Regions from separate parts of the Homo sapiens genome. Here region 1 is linked to region 2. The links are contacts of gene promoters, found by promoter capture Hi-C in blood cells and fetal thymus (Javierre and others, 2016). All regions are on one chromosome and are shown on one strand. The core of a region is centred on a gene start or on the middle of the fragment in contact, and the rest is flanking DNA. Distances in the headings are between cores, read along the strand shown. Region 1 overlaps TPK1 (thiamin pyrophosphokinase 1). Region 2 holds the start of BPGM (bisphosphoglycerate mutase).

Region 1 (3,467 bases), core at 757-3,256, about 10 Mb after region 2:
GTTGGATTGTCCACTATACTAAATCTTAATAAGCATTACAGATAAATCATACCAACAAATAAAATTCACAGAAGCTGGTATCAGAAAAAACTTCTCTGCCAGGTGAGTATTAAACACTGAACCTGTTTGATAAAGGGAATCTCTCCAATAAAAAAATTAACCTCAAAAATTTACTGAATTACTGTAAAAGATCCGGCATCACACTGGCCCTTATAGTAATAGTTCTGTTGTTAAACACCTTATACATATCCAGAGTAATCACAAACTTGCCCAAATCCTTGTTTCAAGGTCAAAACTAGAGATAAGACAAGAATCCTACACAGTTTTACCCATAGGAACAACAGGAGGTAACTGTGAGAACCACCCAAGAGGCCAGGCACTGGATTCTGTTCCCTGGATCTGTACTTCATATATCACCATTTCCCTACAGGCCTTGCTCCAATGTGGAACTTACAAATGTCCTGACTTAAGCAGTCAAGGCCTTCTCCACTAAGCCTCTATTAAAAACAAAGGGGCAGAGCTATCAGCTCCCTCCTTTTCCATCTCAGCATCCACCCTGAGATTCAACTGCCTTTTTGCTTTCCCCTCAAACTTACTGCTGAACAGCTTATAGCTACTGAAGCTAAGTGCTTGATTTGTACTAATTCATTTATACACATAATAACCCTATGATGTATTCCTATTTTACAGATGAAGAAATGGAAGTACAAGGTGAAATAACTATTAAGTGGCAAAGCTAGGATTTAAACCCAGATATTATAGTTCCTCAATACAATCTTTATTATGCAGCAGTCAGTATCCCTGATATATGTCTTTTAACCTAGAAACCATTAGAAATCTTCAGACAGTAATGCTCTTAGGTTTCAGTAACAAATCTGAAAGTCAACATTTCACCCAAATCAAATGTTTACTCTAGAAAATGCTGTTTGTCCTGGTAATACTGGATAAACGAGAACTAGGAAATTTGCAAAATGTGCTTCCCAGTGCCTTTTGGGGTTTTTTTTCTTTGGATTGTTTTTGTTTTTGTTTTTGTTTTTGTTTTGAGATGGAGGATGGAGTCTCTCTCTGTCTCCCAGGCTGGAGTGCAATGGTGCAATCTCAGCTCACTACAACCTCCACCTCCCAGGTTCAAGCAATTCTCCTACAATTCTCCTACCTCAGCCTCCCAAGTAGCTGGGATTACAGGCGTGTGCCGCCACAACCAACTAATTTTAGCAGAGACTATTTTTAGTACAGACAGGGTTTCACCATGTTGGCCAGGCTGGTCTCAGAATTCCTGACCTCAGGTGATCCTCCTGCCTCAGCCTCCCAAAGTGCTGGGATTACAGGCCTGAGCCACCGCGCCTGGCCTTTTTTTTTTTTTTTTTTAACTTTGAAAAGCTGTTTAAAGTAATAAACACTCAACCTTTTAATCTACTAAAATAATAAAGGGATTAAGACTCTAGTTATGTAACTGTTTTCCTTCACCTGTAGAATAAGACATAAACATGTATATGTATATAAAGCTTTTAGCATAACTAGGCGTGGTAGTTCATACCCACAATCCCAGCACTTTGGGAGACTGAGGCAGGAGAATGGGATCACTTGAGCCCAGGAGTTTAAGACCAGCCTGGGCAACACAGGGAGACCCCTTCTCCACAAAAAATTTAAAAATTAGCCAGGTGGGGTAGTGCACACCTGTAGTCCTAGCTACTCCAGAAGTTAAGGTGGGAGGATCGCTTGAGCATGGGAGGTCGAGGCTGCAGTGAGCCATGATGGCACCACTGCACTCCAGCCAGGGCGACAAAGCAAGACCCTGTCACAAACAAAAACATGACTTGGGAGTAAGGAGTCAATGTCACCTACTATTCCCAGCATGTGGAAAAACGTACAAGTTAAATTCAATGCCCAAAACACGACCCATGAATTCATGTTGACAGAAAACAAATGTAAACGTTTAAACAATTATACTTTCTGTTTAAATTTACGAAAGTTATGAGAAAAAACTAATAGTTAATTGAAAATACTTTAACATTACCAAATTATCACACAGTAGTCAATTATTACACAAGAATGAATGCTAACAACCTGCCTCATAAACTCATTCATTCCATCTATTTCCATGTGAAGTACCTGAATGTCTTATTTTCAAAAGTTTTTCTCTTTCCTGTGCGATGCCTTGTCTTACCTTTAACAATGAGATAATAGTCTTTGCTCTCCTTTCCCCCACGAACACCCTTACACAACGTTTCCCTTATCTAATTATGTGTTCGTCTGAAGTTCCAGAGACTAATCTTGAAACAATTCAGGCGACTACTGAATTCTCCTCCACCTGGAGATTACTTCAAGGCTGCAGTTAATTTGCAACCCAGTTATACTCAGGCGCCAGCCCATTCACCAGATGAGGCAAAAACCCAAGATAAATATCTGAGCAAGTCACGTAGACTGGGGCCCCCGAGCCCCAATACCAAGCGCCCCTTTATAAGCTCTTACATTTTGTCCAAATTTGAAATGGTTTCGTTAAGGCAGAAGCTTGGACTACTTCCCCATTGCTAGCTTTGGAAAGTAGTCACTTTCCTTTCCGGGCCCTTCGTCCTTGTTGATTGGCTCTGCAAGCAGCGAGCAGCCCAGCCTGAACTCGGTTACACAGTAATTTCAAATCTTAGAAGAATAAAATATCCTGAGTGTTATATAGATTTAAAACACTTGATATAATCATTTGCCAATCTTTTATTAGATAAGCTCGGGGCACTTTCAATGGATTAAAAATGCATCACGGTCAGGCAACGATGACCGTCCTTAATGCCTGCAATGTCTAATGTTCCGCTATGTTCCAGATTTGTTCGCGCTGTTGGTGGAGGCGCAACAGCCGGGAAGCGCTTACTGGGCTCCACACGGACTACACACACTGTATCTTGTCATTTCGTCCTCACAGCAAGGACTGATACGTAAGCTCATTTTTCAGATGAGGAAAATGAGACCGGCGAGAGGCTGATATGCTTAGCGGTACAGAGCTAGGAAATCAGGGACAGAACCCAGGCTGGAAGTCACGCTGGCTCTAGAGCCCCGTCCTTTCGACCTGTTCCCGTCGCTGGGGAGGGGCACGTCAGTGACACTAAACCGTGGAAAGAAATACAGTACCAGTGGAAAGCAGGGGCTCCAACGGGGTAAAGGCATGCTCCATAACGGATTATTGGCCTCTGCATTAAAAAAAAAAAAGTGAAGTTAGACTCTCAGTTTTAATTAAACATCGCGCAGAACCAACAGCACGGGAGCCGCCTGAACCTGGCACTCGGCAGCGGCGCGCTCCGGGACCCAGGAGCCAGCTGAGCTGCGGCGCAGCACCCGGCGCTGGGGACCCGCCACGGCTCGCCTACAGCACCGCCGCGGGCGGGGGCCCCCGGAGACCGGCCGCGCGGGCCGCTATGAGGTCCGAGGGGTTGCCCCTGCCGCCTCTCTCCGCGAACCCATCACCATCCGGGAACCTG
Region 2 (3,956 bases), core at 418-2,917:
TTCTAGACAGAATCACTGATATAAGCTTCCATCTTATATCAAAATGACTCATTCATAAGCCACATACTCTTGCGAATGATTCTAAAAGGCAAGTGATGTTTGATATTAAGGTTTTATGTGACAAGCTAGCATTCCATGGGTGTCCATAACAACAGTAAACTTAAATCCAATGAGTAGGCGCCCTTAAGTCCAGACTAAGTAGCCCTAAATGCCAAATGCCACAAGACTGTCACTTGGTAATGACTGTCATTAGCCTCCGGAGTATGGATGGTGGGCACTCTGAATAGGAGCTTTATTACACTGTAGAAGAAAAGCTTTCTCCTTACTTTGTCCTCAACTGATATTGAGAAAAAAGCAAGAGGGCAAATGTATAAGATTTGGAAGCTGCCCCTTCCAGCTGTTCTGGCCTGAACTCTAGTTAATCTTGTGCAAGTTAAATTCTAACTATCACTAGGTGAGACCTATCACCTGCTGGGACCTGTCAAGCCTCGGATTAGTGCCGTCCCGGAAGTAAAGTTCTGTTGATATCCCAGGAGGAACTGTCATGCTCTAACATGGATAAATGAGATACAGAACTGGCTACGATTAGGTCTTAATGAGTTCAATAAAGAGTGTGTCACAGAATTTCAAATGTGGAAAGATTATCTTTTCAACTGTATGTATAATTTATTCTGAGGACTTGCTTGCGTGTCACAAACCTAATGCATTTGTTAGGAGGATGAAACAGGAAAAACTCACAGGAGGACACGAAACACTACTTAGGATAGCTTCTAAGAAGGGAATCTCCCATAACATTCCTTATCTTTCCCGCCCACCCAAGAGTTCTGACACATATGCTTCAAAACCTCGTGTGGTAGTTCAAGCCTGCTTAGAAGCTTTTAAGGCCTCGTGCCAGGTTTCCGGTGTTTTCATAGATTTCTCTTGTTCAGTTATTGTCGCCTCCAAATTTGTCATTCTCTCATTCCACTCTAGCCTCCCTTCCTCTGTGCAATAAGCTTTTAGGGCATTCCATTAATCACTTTTCTTCCCCACCTAAAATACTGTCAGCAAACTGCCTAGGGGAATCCCTATAAAAGCGGTAAGAGAAAGTAAGGTTGCGTTACTGCCTATAAATTGGGCACTTTAAAGGCATTTGTTTTAATCACGACTTAAGACTTTCAACCACGAGTAATTTGTGCGAAAGGAGCTTCTTCTGGGAGGATACCTCGGCTTCGTCTTCAGGTTTCAATCCCTAAATTTCCCATAAGTAAAAGAAACATCACCTCCTCTCTTCCAAGAGTCCGCTGACACCTGTCTTCACCCGCAGGTGTTTCTTTTAAGACGTTAAACGCTTTCTAGAACCTCAAACAGCTAAGATGCTCCCCGCACCCGAGGTTTTGCACCAGCGACGCTCTAGGGTGTGTTTTTCTACTTCCCTAGGCCCAAGCCTGCCCGCTGGCGTCGAAGCCAACTCCTTACTGGTTCAGGTATGTGCTCGTCTCTAGAGTAAACCAATCAGAGCCCCACTTCTTACTCCTGGGATTTGGTAAACGGAAGAGACCTCTCCTGTTCCGGGAGTAGGCCGGGACCGTGGATGAGTGACAGTTCGACTTTCCAATAGGCAGAGCCCTAGGACCTGCCCACGTCTGGTTCAGGGGCTAGAAAAGAGCGTCGATGCCGGCGGCAGTGATGAGTCCTAGGAGGCGCTGGCTCTTTGGCGGCTCGGAGGAGCGGCTGCTGCTGCTGCTGCTGCTGCTGGTGGCCCCTTTGCAGGTGAGTGGCTTTGTTTTAGAAAATGTTGCGAACGTTTACATTTTTTAGTGATGTGATGTTTTATTTTTGGGTGCGGGGAAGGCCAGTTTCTTTACTTCCCCCGGTTTAGTCGTTGGTGGGAGTCTGGTGCCCACTCCAGCCCTCAAGCTGGGACCCTCACTTATCGCCCCGGTCCCTTTCCCTTGTCCCTATCTCAGAATGAGCCTCGCAGGCAGTCACCGTTCTGTCAACTGAGAGGAGGAGCCCGCTTTGGTAGTGCTGTCCTTATGGCAAGAATATATAGAAGTTGGAGGGAAGATAAACTCTCTTCTGGATGTCTGAGGTACTGTGTAGCAGAGCCCTTCCAATAGTAAGATCCCCTGGAAGGAAGCAGGGCGATGCCGCTGTATTTAGGGTTCTGGCAGACCTGGCCCTATCTATCATTTTGTGTAGTAGACAGAAAAACTCGAATGCGGTGAAAAGAGAAGGAGGTGAATATATGCAGTGTTTTCATGTAGGAATCTGGAGCCAAATCACAAGTTCTTAGAACCACTAGAAATAAAAACGTAAGTGTATTTTCCTCTTTTCTAAGGGACGAGCTGGTATTACACTAGAGAAGGTCAATGAAATGCATAATTGCAGTTAAGTTCACAGTTAAGCTTTAAAGAATAGTTGGTTGTTAGCTAACTTATAACTCTCATCCCCCTACTGCCTCCCTTGCAAATTACGGAAGATCTTTAGCTTGTGAGTGGTACTAGAATGTTAGCTGACTAAATGCAGACTCTTTCCAAGAAGGGGAAAAATCAAAAGCTAAGTTTCACCTGTAGGTACTAAAGGTTTTTTAATAGTGAAAGCAGAACTCATGTCAATTTGTCTTTTATTTTTTATTTTTTTTGAAACGGAGTCTCGCTCTGTCGCCCAGGCTGGAGCGACTGCAGTGGCTCGATCTCGGTTCACTGCAACCTCCGCCTACCGGGTTCAAGTGATTCTCCTGCCTCAGCCTCCCAAGTAGCTGGGATTACAAGCATAGGCCACCACGCCTGGCTGATTTTTGTATTTTTAGTAGAGACGGGGTTTCACCATGTTGGCCAGGGTGGTCTTGAACTCCTGACCTCAGGTGATCTGCCTGCCTCGGCCTCCCAAAGTGCTGGGATTACAGGCGTGAGCCACCGTGCCTGGCCTTGTCTTTTTTCTTTCTTTCTTTCTTTTGTTTTGGTTTTTTTTTTGTTTTGTTTTCAGACGGAGTTTCGCTTCTGTTGCCCAGGCTGGAGTGCAATGGCGCGATATTGGCTCACCGCAACCTCCGCCTCCTGGATTCAATCGATTCTCCTGCCTCAGCCTCCCGAGTAGCTGGGATTACAGGCATGCGCCCCCACGCCCAGCTAATTTTGTGTTTTTAGTAGAGACAGGATTTCACCATGTTGGCCAGGCTGGTCTCGAATTCCTGACCTCAGGTGATCTGCCTGCCTCGGCCTCCCAAAGTGCTGGGATTACAGGTGTGAGCTACCGCGCCCGGCCTTCTTTTTTTTTGAACTGCCTCCCGTGAGTCCAGGGAATAGCTCTTTCTTAGCCATCTTTGTATTCCAGTAGCACCTCATACACCGCAGATGCTCCCCAGTTGGTGGTGGACTTCAGAGAAGCATAATTCAAACAGTGTCATAGTGGAAGGAGCTCTGAGTTAGAAATCAAGAACATTGGCTTTAGTCCTGAAACTGTTACTATTTGTGTGATCTTAAACAAATCATTTCAACTGTGACTCTTAATTTTTGCATTTTTTTTTTGAGACAGGGTCTCGCTCTGTTGCCCAGGCTGGAGGGCAGTGGCGCAATCTCTGCTCACTGCAACCTCCACCTCTGCCTCCTGGGCTCAAGCGATCCTACCATCTCGATTTTTGCATCTTTAGAAAGCAGATGTTGCATTAAATTATATCTGAGATATAAACTCTGTATTTAAAGTCTGTTTTAAAGTAAAAATTATTAGTATACAAGCAGAATCTCATTGCAGTAAATTCTGTACCATCTATTAGCAAGTAAAAGTTCCCAGCTTCAAGGATATATTCTTGTTTTTTAATTTTTAATTTTTGTGGGTACCTAGTAGGTGTATATATTTATGGGTTACATGAGATATTTTGACATAGGCATGCAATGCATAATCACATCAGAGTACATAGGGTAGCTGTCACCAAAAGCATTTATCCTTTATGTTTCAAACAATCCAATTGTACT

The links. The method cuts DNA at HindIII sites, captures the fragments that hold promoters and counts their contacts. A CHiCAGO score of 5 or more calls a contact.
Region 1: a contact is called between a fragment that was not itself captured here and the fragment with the promoter of BPGM in region 2, in 1 of 17 cell types (fetal thymus). The highest score is 8.2, in fetal thymus.

Annotation. Positions count from the first base shown.
Region 1 is chr7:144,832,440-144,835,906 of GRCh38, forward strand. It overlaps TPK1 (thiamin pyrophosphokinase 1), which reads right to left. Exons shown (of 9, transcript NM_022445.4): 2 at 3,121-3,179. The coding sequence starts at 3,163. Among named protein-coding and RNA genes, the nearest start is that of TPK1, 1.9 kb to the right of the region's middle. RefSeq lists a silencer at 3,355-3,454. The HindIII fragment of the contact is 1,006 bases long and covers 1,504-2,509 here.
Region 2 is chr7:134,645,186-134,649,141 of GRCh38, forward strand. BPGM (bisphosphoglycerate mutase) reads left to right here and starts at 1,668. Exons shown (of 3, transcript NM_001724.5): 1 at 1,668-1,752. The region is part of intron 1 of LOC124901750 (a long non-coding RNA gene); the gene reads right to left. RefSeq lists enhancers at 1,645-1,794, 1,895-2,004. The HindIII fragment of the contact is 1,395 bases long and covers 994-2,388 here.